Linked DNA regions of Homo sapiens: regions 1, 2 and 4 are each linked to region 3. Evidence: promoter capture Hi-C in human tissues and cell types (Jung and others, 2019). All regions are on one chromosome and are shown on one strand. The core of a region is centred on a gene start or on the middle of the fragment in contact, and the rest is flanking DNA. Distances in the headings are between cores, read along the strand shown.

What was found. Contacts are between HindIII fragments. The study calls those that stand out against the background at their distance.
Region 1: a contact is called between a fragment that was not itself captured here and the fragment with the promoter of FEM1A in region 3, in 1 of the 25 tissues and cell types used here (lymphoblastoid cells).
Region 2: the fragment with the promoter of PTPRS here is called in contact with the fragment with the promoter of FEM1A in region 3 in 2 of the 25 tissues and cell types used here (dorsolateral prefrontal cortex and lymphoblastoid cells).
Region 4: a contact is called between the fragment with the promoter of ZNRF4 here and the fragment with the promoter of FEM1A in region 3, in 1 of the 25 tissues and cell types used here (lymphoblastoid cells).

What each region holds. Positions count from the first base shown.
Region 1 is chr19:5,478,592-5,481,470 of GRCh38, forward strand. No RefSeq gene overlaps it. Among named protein-coding and RNA genes, the nearest start is that of ZNRF4, 25 kb to the left of the region's middle. The HindIII fragment of the contact is 4,537 bases long and covers 1-2,879 here.
Region 2 is chr19:5,339,555-5,342,418 of GRCh38, forward strand. PTPRS (protein tyrosine phosphatase receptor type S) reads right to left here and starts at 1,258. Exons shown (of 38, transcript NM_002850.4): 1 at 1,110-1,258. RefSeq lists a silencer at 1,186-1,465. The HindIII fragment of the contact is 6,208 bases long and covers 1-2,864 here.
Region 3 is chr19:4,790,395-4,793,094 of GRCh38, forward strand. FEM1A (fem-1 homolog A) reads left to right here and starts at 1,340. Exons shown (of 1, transcript NM_018708.3): 1 at 1,340-2,700. The coding sequence starts at 1,461. It overlaps LOC124904620 (a long non-coding RNA gene), which reads right to left and starts at 898. Exons shown (of 2, transcript XR_007067103.1): 1 at 804-898. RefSeq lists enhancers at 993-1,650, 1,161-1,430, 1,651-2,307, 1,961-2,020, 2,308-2,700. The HindIII fragment of the contact is 32,697 bases long and covers 1-2,700 here.
Region 4 is chr19:5,454,032-5,456,823 of GRCh38, forward strand. ZNRF4 (zinc and ring finger 4) reads left to right here and starts at 1,386. Exons shown (of 1, transcript NM_181710.4): 1 at 1,386-2,792. The coding sequence starts at 1,461. The coding sequence ends at 2,750. The HindIII fragment of the contact is 14,927 bases long and covers 132-2,792 here.

The sequences.
Region 1 (2,879 bases), core at 152-2,651, 690 kb after region 3:
TAAAAACAGTAAGAAAAATAGTTAAAAGCCCACCGCGTGTTCAGTCAGCGCTGGACTTTCTCCTATCTATGCCTGCTCCATGTGCCTGCACAACCCTACTGCTATTAGCCCCGGGTTTCCGATAAGAATGCTGAGCCCAGAGAGGGGAAGACGCTTCCCCAAGGTCACACAGCACAGTTGGGATTTGAATTCAGATCCTACATGACCTCCCCAGGGGTGCCTCGAAGAGCCTCTACTGAGGAGGGAGAGGAAAGGAAAAGCAACGGACACCAGAGGGATCAGCAGATGTAAGAGTTTCAAGCAGGCTTCATGCAATAGCTCCTGAAGCCCTCAGTTAAATCCTCTGTAGCCAGCAGCCCTCAGTTAAATCAAGATGTGACTGTGGCTTTCCCAACTGCCTGTATCATCCTTTCACATGCTAGTCCCCACAAACCCCTAAGCCAGGGACAACTGTGGCAACCACAGCAACTGGCTCAGAAGAAAAGAAATAAGAATAAAGTTTGGAAGCTGGCGACACCCAGATGTCCCCTCCTTTCTTACCCAGAGTAGGAAAAGAGGAGGCCTTCAGTAACAACGGTCTTAGACATGAGAGAGAACATCCACCACCATGGAGATTCAAATCCAAACTGCACCCCTCACCTCCTGGTACACTCAGCCCAACCATCTCAACTCTGGGAGCCTTGAGGGGTTGCAATGTAGATACCAGACATATAAAAGCTGCAGTGGGCCGTGCTTAAGTGGTCGAGAATGTCAAATGTGAGCCTAACAGCCCGGGGTTCGAATCCCAGCTCTGCTGCTTTCTCGCTGTGCAACCTTCAGCAAGTTGCTTGACCTCTCTGTGTCACTGTTTCCCTGTTGGTAAAAGGGACATAAAAATTCCTGCCTCCCAATTTTAAATATGTTGATGTTCCAAAAACACATGGGACGGAGCCTAGCCTACAACAGGTGCTTATACATGTGGGATATAATATTATTATTATTATTATTTTTGAGACAGTCTTGCTCTGTCACCCAGGCTGGAGGGCAGTGGCACAATCTCAACTTACTGCAACTTCTGCCTCCCAGGTTCAAGCGATTCTCCTGCCTCAGCCTCCCCAGTAGCTGGGATTACAGGCACCTGCCACCACGCCTGGCTAACATTTTGTATTTTTAGTAGAGACGTGGTTTCACCATGTTGCCCAAGCTGGTCTTGAACTCCTGGCCTCAAGTGATCCGCCTGCCTCGGCCTCCCAAAGTGCTGGGATTACAGGCGTGAGCCACCGTGCCCGGCCCACATGTGAGATATAATTAGATATGTGATTCCCAACCAGAGACAGGGAGAGCCGGGACGATGTCCTCCCTCCCCGCCCACCCAACCCAGGGAAGGGCAGCAGGGAGATGGCTCTGGTCCCAGAGCCCCAGCCACCGGCGGCTCCCTGGGCGAGGGATTGACTTTTCTAGAATGTTTTGCCCCTCCTCCCAGTTTCCATCAGGAGCCAGCGCGGCCGCATAAATCCCGCTTTACGGCTGTTATTGACGGGGGAGCAGAGAGAGCAGCCCCAGGAAGGCCCAATTAATTTTCCCACCTGGCATCTGTGCGCCAGACGAATTTCTGAACTGCTGCAGGGAGGGGCAGAGCGAGCTGGGGAAAGGCCAGGCTGAGGACAAGGTCGTGGGCAGGCCGGGATATCCTAGGCTCTTAGCTTCAGAGCACTGTTGAGGGAGTCCCAGGCTCTCTTGTCTGAAGGGTAGAAGTGGAGGGGGCTGTCAATTCTGAGTAGGGCTTGAAGCTTTCAGTTAGGATGCAGATGAGGGTTTCACTGAGGAGACACTGAAGCAAAGACACAAAGGAGGCTAGGGAGGCTGCCACATGGCTTTTGGAAGGAACAGCTTGCCAGCAGAGGGCACAGCCTGTGCAAAGGCCCTGAGGCAGGACCTCACCTGGGGTGTTGGAGGAACAACGAGGAGGCCCATGTGGCTGGAGCAGAGTGAGTGAGGGGGAGACAAGGAGGAGGAGAGGGCAGGGAGGGGCTGGGGCAGGTCGTGCAGGGCCTGGTAGGCCTCGGGGAGGACTTGGGCTTTGACCCTGAGGGAGGTGGGAGCCATTGAGGGCTGTGGGCAGAGGAGAGACGAGATCTGACTTAGGTGCTCACGGGCGCCCTCTGGCTGCTGTTCAGAGAACAGTTGTGGGATTCACAGGGAAAACAAAACCCAGTTACTAAATTCTCCCAGGTCCAGGTATTGGCTGGGATCTGTAAACCAGAGACCCCCTGGCACTTTAAAAGGAAAATCAAGGCTGGGCGCAGAGGTTCACGCCCATAATCCCAGCACTTTGGGAGGCCGAGGCGGGTAGATCACCTGAGGTCAAGAGTTCGAGACCAGCCTGGCCAACATGGAGAAACTCCATCACTATTTCCAAAACTTTCTCATCTTCCCAAATTGAAACTCCATCTCCATGAAACACTCACTCCCCACCCCCCTCCCCAGCCCCTGGCACTCCCCATCCTACGTTCTGTCTCTGTGAATCTGATGACTCTAGGGATCTCCTAGGAGTGGAGTCACACAAGATTTGTTCTTTTGTGTCTGGCTTCTCTCACTGAGTGTGATGTCCTCAAGGTTCATCAATGTCATCGCCTGTATCAGAATTTCCTTCCTTTTTAAGGCTGAGTAATATTCCATTTTATGCATAGATCACATTTTGCTCATCCATTCGTCTGATGAAACACTTGTGTTGTTTTTGGCTTTTGCCTATCGTGAATCATGCTGCTATGAATGTGAGTGTACAAGTATCTCTTTGAGACTCTGCTTTCTATCAAATTTTGTTTGATTTTAATTAATTTAATGTAAACAGCCACCCATGGCTAGTGACTGCCATATTGGACAGAGTGGCTCTGCAGAAT
Region 2 (2,864 bases), core at 8-2,507, 550 kb after region 3:
GGATTTGTAGGGGGAGGTCCGAAGGGGAGGATCTTAATTTTAGGAGAGATTCCCATAAAGAGAGGTGAACTTGGCCGCAACCTGGCCGAACCCTCGCACCCACGGCGCGGGCACTCTAACCTGGGGGGCTCCCCTCAGGGCACGCCCCGCGCCCCCTTTAACCCAGTGCCGACGGCCCCGCCCCCGGTATGACGTCACCTCCCCTCCCCCCGCAGCCCCCGGGGGCTCCCGGGGCGTGCGGAACCCGCGGGGCTGGCGGTTCCAGGGGCGGCTTCCCCACTCTCGGGATCCCCACGGGGCCCCCAGCGCGGAGGGGAGACTGGGGTGCTGGGCGTGCGCGTCTGCCTGCCAGAGCCCCTGGGGCTGGGGGCTGAGGCTCGCCCCTGGGTGGGGAGGCTGGAAGGGGGCGCCGAGGCCGCAGAAGGGTGGGGCAATGCCCGAGTGCCGGAGGGGCGACCTCCCATAAGGCAACGACAGGGCCCGGAGTGTTCCAGGGGAGACGGCGTAGACTAGGGGGTCTCCAGGGGAGGGAGACCCGGAGAGGGAAGGCGGCGGGCGCAGCAGCCCTGGAGCCACCCCGCCTGGAGCCACCCGTCCCGGCTCCTCTCCGCTCCGGGGCGCCCGCATGCCCCCCATCCCCCGGCACAGCGCCCCCTGCCTCCAGGACCCGCCCGGGGACCCGGGCCGGGCGCCGCCGGGGCCGGCACCGGCTCCGCACACACGCGCGCCCCCCTCCGCGCCTCTGCCCCGCCCGCAGCCCGGGGTGGTGCAGCCGGCGGCGCTGGGCAGCTTCCAATGCCGCGCTCTGGGCGCTTCCAGCCCAGCCCCCTCCCACGCCGCGGACGAAGCCCCCCCAGCACCCCCTGCCGAGCGCCCCCAGCGCGGCCCCGGCCCTGTCCCTCGGGGCATTGTCCGGGCGCAGCTACCGGGGCGCAGCGGCTGGGCGTGCAACTGGCTGCAGCCGAGCATCCTCCGAGCACAATGGCCGTGCAGGCTTCCCCGGCACAAAGCCGGCGCGCTGCCCACTCGGCTGCCTCCGAGACCCCCCTTGGAGCGCCTGCATTTTTTTTTCCTCTAATCCATGATTTTATTTTTTTTTTTGGCTTTACCTGGAGGCTGGCTGGGCTGGGCTCCCCCGGCTCTGCCCCGCTTCACATCGTGGCTGTTGCATGGGATCCGAGCGGAGCCCGAGCGCCAGCGGCTCGCGGCGTGCGCGCGCCGGCCGGGCTGCCGGGCGGGCGGCGCGAGGACACTCACTGCGGCTCGCGCTCCCCTAGCTCCCGCTCGCGCGCCCCCCCAGCCGGTGACGTCATCCCTTCCGCCAGCGCCGCCGCCGCCGCCGCCGGGTCGGGGGCAGGGCCGGCCCGTGCGCGTCACTGCGCAGCCGCGCGGCCGCCACGCCCCCCGGCCAATGGGACGGCGCAGCGCGGTCACGTGGCTCCGGGGTGTTTAAAGGGCCGCGGGAGCACGTGGGGCGCGGGGCTTCGCGGGACACGTGGGCGGCTGGGGTGGTGGTGGTGGTGGCGGCTGCGGCGGCGGCGGGAAGGGCCCCTGGGGCTACTGTCCGTGCGGGAGCCCCAGCGTCCTGGGTGCAAAGGGCATGGCACTTTCTGTGCGCTGCCCTAAACTGTGCCACGGCTCCCCAGTACCCTTGGAATAAAATCCCGCCTCCTCTCTGCAGCTCGCCGTTTCACATTAGCGCCCACTACCCTGTCCCCTCCCCCCCACCATGTCAATGATCCAGAAAAACCAGCTGCTCCTTCTTTGCTTTTTCAGAGATGGGGTCTGCCACCTGGGCCTCAGTACAGTGGTATGATCATAGCTCACTGCAGCTTCAAACTCCTGGGCTCAGGTGATCCTCCCGCCTCAGCCTCCTGAGTAGTTGGGCTCGGGTGATCCTCCCGCCTCAGCCAGCTTCTTACAGTTCCTCTAACTTGAGCATCCAAGAACTTCCCCTTCTCATCTTTCCAATTTCTGCTCAAATAAGCAGCGCCTGGGAGAAGCCCTCCCTGACAACAGCTACCAGCCACGCCCCACTCCACTCTATCCCATTATCCCGGTTTGTTGTTGTTGTTGTTGTTTGTTTGGTTTTGAGTCGGAGTCTCACTCTGTCGCCCAGGCTGGAATGCAGTGGCGTGATCGCGGCTCACTGTAACCTCCGCCTCCTGGATTCAAGCTATTCTCCTGTCTCAGCCTCCGGAGTAGCTGGAATTACAGGCGTGCTGTCACCACGCCTGGCTAATTTTTGTATTTTTGTTAGAGACAGTGTTTCACCATGTTGGCCAGGCTGGTCTTGAACTCCTGACCTCAGTGATCCGTCCACCTCGGCCTCCCAAAGTGCTGGGATTACAGGCGTGAGCCACCGCGCCTGGTCCCATTATCCCGTTTTTATTCTAGTTACACTACAGTGTGGCTCCAGAGATCCCTATTGTAGGTTGAACACATGAATGAATGGATGATGGAGCACTTCTTATAGAGTAAGCACTTTACACAGGTCTCACCTAATTACCATCCCCTGCTTCCCTGGAGTCAGGACGAGCCACAGTTGGAACCCAGCTAAAACACTGATTTGCTGTGTGAGGCCCGGAGCCTCACTTTCCCCATCTGTAGAATGGATTTGCCTCTGGATCTCAGCTCTCATCTGTAAAATGGGGCAAGGTAGCCCCTGCTCCTAAGGAGGGTGTGATGATGAATTGCTATAATGTGGCAGCCTGGCTGCCATTGGTGCCTGAAGATGGAATAATAAGAGAAAAGAGGCCGGGCCCGGTGACTCATGCCTGTAATCCCAGCACTTTGGGAAGCCAAGGTGGGCAGATCACTTGTCAGGAGTTCGAGACCAGGCTGGCCGACATGGCGAAACCCCA
Region 3 (2,700 bases), core at 90-2,589:
GCATTTTATTGTATATATATTACACCTCGAATAAACTTTAAAAATAAAGAATTCGGGTCACCAAAGATTTCTTTTTCATAATATAATTCATTGTTGTCAAAAAATGCCAGGGAATGGATCACCTTACAACTGCTAGAATAGCTATCATCAAAAAGACGAAAGGTAACAAACGTTGGCAAGGATTTGAAGAGAACACTTATACACTACTGATGGTAATTTTAATTAGTATAGCCATTATAGAAAATGGTATGGAAGTTCCAAAGAAAAATTTAAAAATAAAACTACCAGGTGATCCAGGAATCCCACTTCTGGGTCTTTATCCAAAGGAATTGAAGTCAGCACGTCAGGCCGGGCATAGTGGCTCACGCCTGTAATTCTAGCACTTTGGGAGGCTGAGGCGGGCGGATCTCCCAAGGTCAGGAGTTCGAGACCATCCTGGCCAACATGGCGAAACCCGTCTCTACCAAAAATACAAAAATTAGCCGGGCGTGGTGGTGGATGTCTGTAGTCCCAGCTACTCGGGAGGCTGAGGCACGAGAATCACTTGAACCCGGGAGGCAGAGGTTGCAGTGAGCCGAGATTGCGGCATTGCCCTCCAGCCTAGGCAACAAGAGCGAGACGCTGTCTCAAAAACAAAAACCAAAACCAAAAAACCCCACAAAGTTATTGAAAGAAATAAATAAAAATAAATACGTAAATAAAAGAAGGAAATTCTGACACATACTAGAATATACATAAATGTATGTAAATGAATAAATGAATATATGAATGTGAGAATAAGAAGTGAGCGCGTCATTTTTTACCGTTCTCCCAGCTCAAAACGTTTTCGCCCCGTCCAGCTTTTCGGCCTCCTCCGGGCGCCCCCTGCCGGTGGGCCGCTTGCCCGTGCTCCAAGCCCAAAACAGACGCGTCCCCTCTAGTCGCTTTTAGCCTTCGGTCTCGGTCCTGATTGGCTCAGAGTCGCTCGTGATCCCTTTTGGGAAATGTAGTCCTTAAGGGTATCGCGCCTGCTTTTTCTATACGCTCTGACGCAGAGATAGCCACGGGAAGTACGTCACCAAATTTCGCCGGTTCCCACAAGCTAGGTCGTGTGACGCTGCATGACGGGAATTGTAGTCCTCAAATTGCTAGCTTCCGATGCCATGCGCTGCGACTGGAACGCCAATTCCCACCATGCCGCGCGCTCACAGCTCTCAGGGGCTGTCCTGTGGCCTTTGGGGAAGTGTAGTCTTGAGCCCCCAAGATTCCTTTTCTGTTCTATGGAGTGGGCCCGCGCAAAGGACTCCATTTCCCGGCGTGCTGCCATCCGTCGGGTCGCGGCAGCCATTTTGTTCCGCCCGAGGAGACCCTAAGATGGCGGCGAGGGGGACGGTGAAGGTTGCCTCCCGCCCGTCCGGGCTCTGATCCTCCGTCTCCCCGTCCCCCGGCGGCCGGCCCATGGCCTGGCGGAGGCCCGAACCATGGACCTCCGCACCGCCGTGTACAACGCCGCCCGTGATGGCAAGCTGCAGCTGCTCCAGAAGCTGCTCAGCGGCCGGAGCCGGGAGGAACTGGACGAGCTGACGGGCGAGGTGGCCGGCGGGGGAACGCCGCTACTCATCGCCGCCCGCTACGGCCACCTGGACGTGGTGGAGTACCTGGTGGACCGGTGCGGCGCGAGCGTGGAGGCCGGTGGCTCGGTGCACTTCGATGGCGAGACCATCGAGGGCGCGCCGCCGCTGTGGGCCGCCTCCGCAGCCGGCCACCTGGACGTGGTGCGGAGCCTGCTGCGCCGCGGGGCCTCGGTGAACCGCACCACGCGCACCAACTCCACGCCTCTCCGCGCCGCCTGCTTCGACGGCCACCTGGAGGTGGTGCGCTACCTGGTCGGCGAGCACCAGGCCGACCTGGAGGTGGCCAACCGGCACGGCCACACGTGCCTCATGATCTCGTGCTACAAGGGCCACCGTGAGATCGCCCGCTACCTGCTGGAGCAGGGCGCCCAGGTGAACCGGCGCAGCGCCAAGGGCAACACGGCCCTGCATGACTGCGCCGAGTCCGGCAGCCTGGAGATCCTGCAGCTGCTGCTGGGGTGCAAGGCCCGCATGGAACGTGACGGCTACGGCATGACCCCGCTGCTCGCGGCCAGCGTGACGGGCCACACCAACATCGTGGAGTACCTCATCCAGGAGCAGCCCGGCCAGGAGCAGGTCGCAGGGGGAGAGGCTCAGCCTGGGCTGCCCCAAGAAGACCCCTCCACCAGCCAGGGGTGTGCGCAGCCTCAGGGGGCTCCGTGCTGCAGCTCCTCCCCAGAGGAACCACTGAACGGGGAATCTTACGAAAGCTGCTGTCCCACCAGCCGGGAAGCTGCCGTGGAAGCCTTGGAATTGCTGGGAGCTACGTATGTGGATAAGAAACGAGATCTGCTTGGGGCCCTTAAACACTGGAGGCGGGCCATGGAGCTGCGTCACCAGGGGGGCGAGTACCTGCCCAAACCGGAGCCCCCACAGCTGGTCCTGGCCTATGACTATTCCAGGGAGGTCAACACCACCGAGGAGCTGGAGGCGCTGATCACCGACCCGGATGAGATGCGCATGCAGGCCCTGTTGATCCGGGAGCGCATCCTCGGTCCCTCGCACCCGGACACTTCCTATTACATCCGTTACAGGGGTGCCGTGTACGCCGACTCGGGCAATTTCGAGCGCTGCATCCGCTTGTGGA
Region 4 (2,792 bases), core at 136-2,635, 660 kb after region 3:
CAGTAGCGGGCTCATTGACAAGACAGTACTGGGTTCGTTGACTTATGGAGCTCATTCGACTGGGGACCTCTAGGAGATATGGTAGAACATACTTCGATTTGTCCCATAAGAGGGACGAGGGAGTGGGGGCATTTATCTACCACCTCCCATCTGTCACTGGCTGAGGGCTGCTCTGAGAGGTATTAGGCCAACACAGAAAATCTAAAGACTAAGTAGTCAGCCTGGCAAAGTGAAGTTGAGGAGCAAGAATTCTGTTCCAGGCAGAGGGAACAGCATTTGCAAAATTCTAGAGGTGAACAAAGCAAGATGCCTCTGGGACATTGCAAATCATCCAGGCTTCAGAGATTGGCAGGCGCCCAACCACAGGGGTGCATGTAGGCCACAGAGAAGAGTGTGGGCTTTATCTGGAGGGCAATGGGGAGCCATGGGAGAGTTTAGAGCATGGGAAAGACTATGTTACAGGTCTGGAAGCTGAGGCCCAGAGAGGCTAAGGAATTTAGCTGATGTCATACAGCTTATGAATGGCAGAGACAGAAATCCGACTTGAGTGGGCTGCAGACAGATTGAGGGTGTGAAATTTGGGGGATGGGGACTGGGGAGGAGGTGAGGCTGATGCCCAGGGCTGAAGCTCAGGCAGGGGGCACAGTTGGAGACCCAGCTGGAGAGGCAATGCTATAGGGAGAGAGAATGAAGCTGGTGCAAGCCTGGAGGCCAACCTGGCGGTGCGGACTTGGGACCACTGACCCCCACCAGCCCCACCCTGACCCTGGCACTTGACTCTCCCTCCAAATCAAGTCCAGGAGGGCTCTGAGGATATATGGACTCAGACCTGAGTCCGGATAAAAGAGCCAGCTACGGAGAGAAAGGGCTTTCCAGGCAGGAGGCCCAGCCCATGCAAAGGCCCTGGGGCAGGATCCTGCCTGGTGTGTTGGAGGAACAGCAAGGAGATCTGTGTGGCTGGAGCAGAGTGAGGGATGGTGACAGGGGGTCAGGAATTTGGGTTTTAAGCACTGATCTCATTGTAGGGGGGCGTGGCTTGAACAAGTCTGGGTCACTCTTGGAGTCTCAGACAAGGGTAACATTGAACCTTCTACAGTGTGTTGCTAGGAACCTCCAGAAGCTGATGCTGGTAGCGTCTTCGCACAGTGAGGGCTGAATCTGCACTGCTGGGGGCCGGCAGCCCTTTTGAAGCATCCCTGGGCCTCCTTGGGTCCAAAGATACCCTGAGCCTTCAAGAAGTTATCTCAAAGCTTGCCCGGGTACCGGCAAATCACAGACCTAGGAATGATCCATTGGCCACAGGCCCAGGCAGCTGGCAGCTCCTGGGACAGAATGTAGCAGGGCGATGTCACAGAAGCTGGGGGCATCTAGAACCCTGGTGACTCCTGGTCTCCATGTCATCTGCCAGAAAGGCCACCTGCGCCAGCACCTCCTGAGACCGGCCTTCAAAGACACGACGCATGCCGCTCTGCCGTCCGGAGCACTTAATGCCTAGAGCCAGCAGGGTCCCAGTGGCCGCGTCACTGCCTCTGAGCCACGCGGTCATTCCAACTCAACTGCCCTCGCGTCCTGGCCACAGGCCCCCTGGGAGACCCCGGAGATGCCCAAAGGCCTCATGCCTGCCGCCTCCAGTGGGACCTAGCAGCACACAGACAGCGAAGCGGGTGACCATGGGGTGGCCACGGCCGGGCCGAGCCCTCGTGGCAGTCAAAGCCTTGCTGGTCTTGTCGCTGCTCCAGGTGCCCGCGCAGGCAGTGGTACGGGCCGTGCTGGAAGACAACTCGAGCTCGGTGGACTTTGCGGATCTGCCGGCGCTGTTCGGCGTCCCCCTGGCCCCCGAGGGCATACGGGGCTACCTGATGGAGGTCAAGCCAGCCAACGCGTGCCATCCCATCGAGGCCCCGCGACTGGGCAACCGCTCTCTGGGCGCCATCGTGCTGATCCGCCGCTACGACTGCACCTTCGACCTCAAGGTGCTGAACGCCCAGCGCGCCGGCTTCGAGGCGGCCATCGTGCACAACGTCCACTCCGACGACCTCGTGAGCATGACCCACGTCTACGAGGACTTGAGGGGCCAGATCGCCATCCCCTCAGTGTTCGTGAGCGAGGCCGCCTCGCAGGACCTGCGGGTCATCCTGGGCTGCAACAAGTCGGCCCACGCGCTGCTCCTGCCCGACGACCCACCGTGCCACGACCTGGGCTGTCACCCCGTGCTGACCGTGTCCTGGGTGCTGGGCTGTACCCTGGCCCTGGTCGTATCAGCCTTCTTTGTCCTGAACCACCTGTGGCTCTGGGCCCAGGCCTGCTGCAGCCACAGACGGCCGGTGAAGACGTCTACCTGCCAGAAGGCCCAGGTCCGCACCTTCACGTGGCACAACGACCTGTGTGCCATCTGCCTGGATGAGTATGAGGAGGGCGACCAACTCAAGATCCTGCCCTGCTCCCACACCTACCACTGCAAATGCATTGACCCCTGGTTCTCCCAAGCCCCCCGGCGCTCCTGCCCCGTGTGCAAACAGTCGGTGGCCGCCACAGAAGACAGCTTTGACTCCACCACCTACAGCTTCAGGGACGAGGACCCCTCCCTACCGGGCCACCGGCCCCCCATCTGGGCCATTCAAGTCCAGCTACGCTCCCGGAGGCTGGAGCTGCTGGGCCGCGCCAGTCCCCACTGCCACTGCAGCACCACGTCCCTGGAGGCAGAGTATACCACTGTCTCCTCAGCCCCTCCTGAGGCCCCTGGTCAGTAAAGATCTAGGGCAGGGAGGGGGGTGCAATGAGGAATGTTTCTG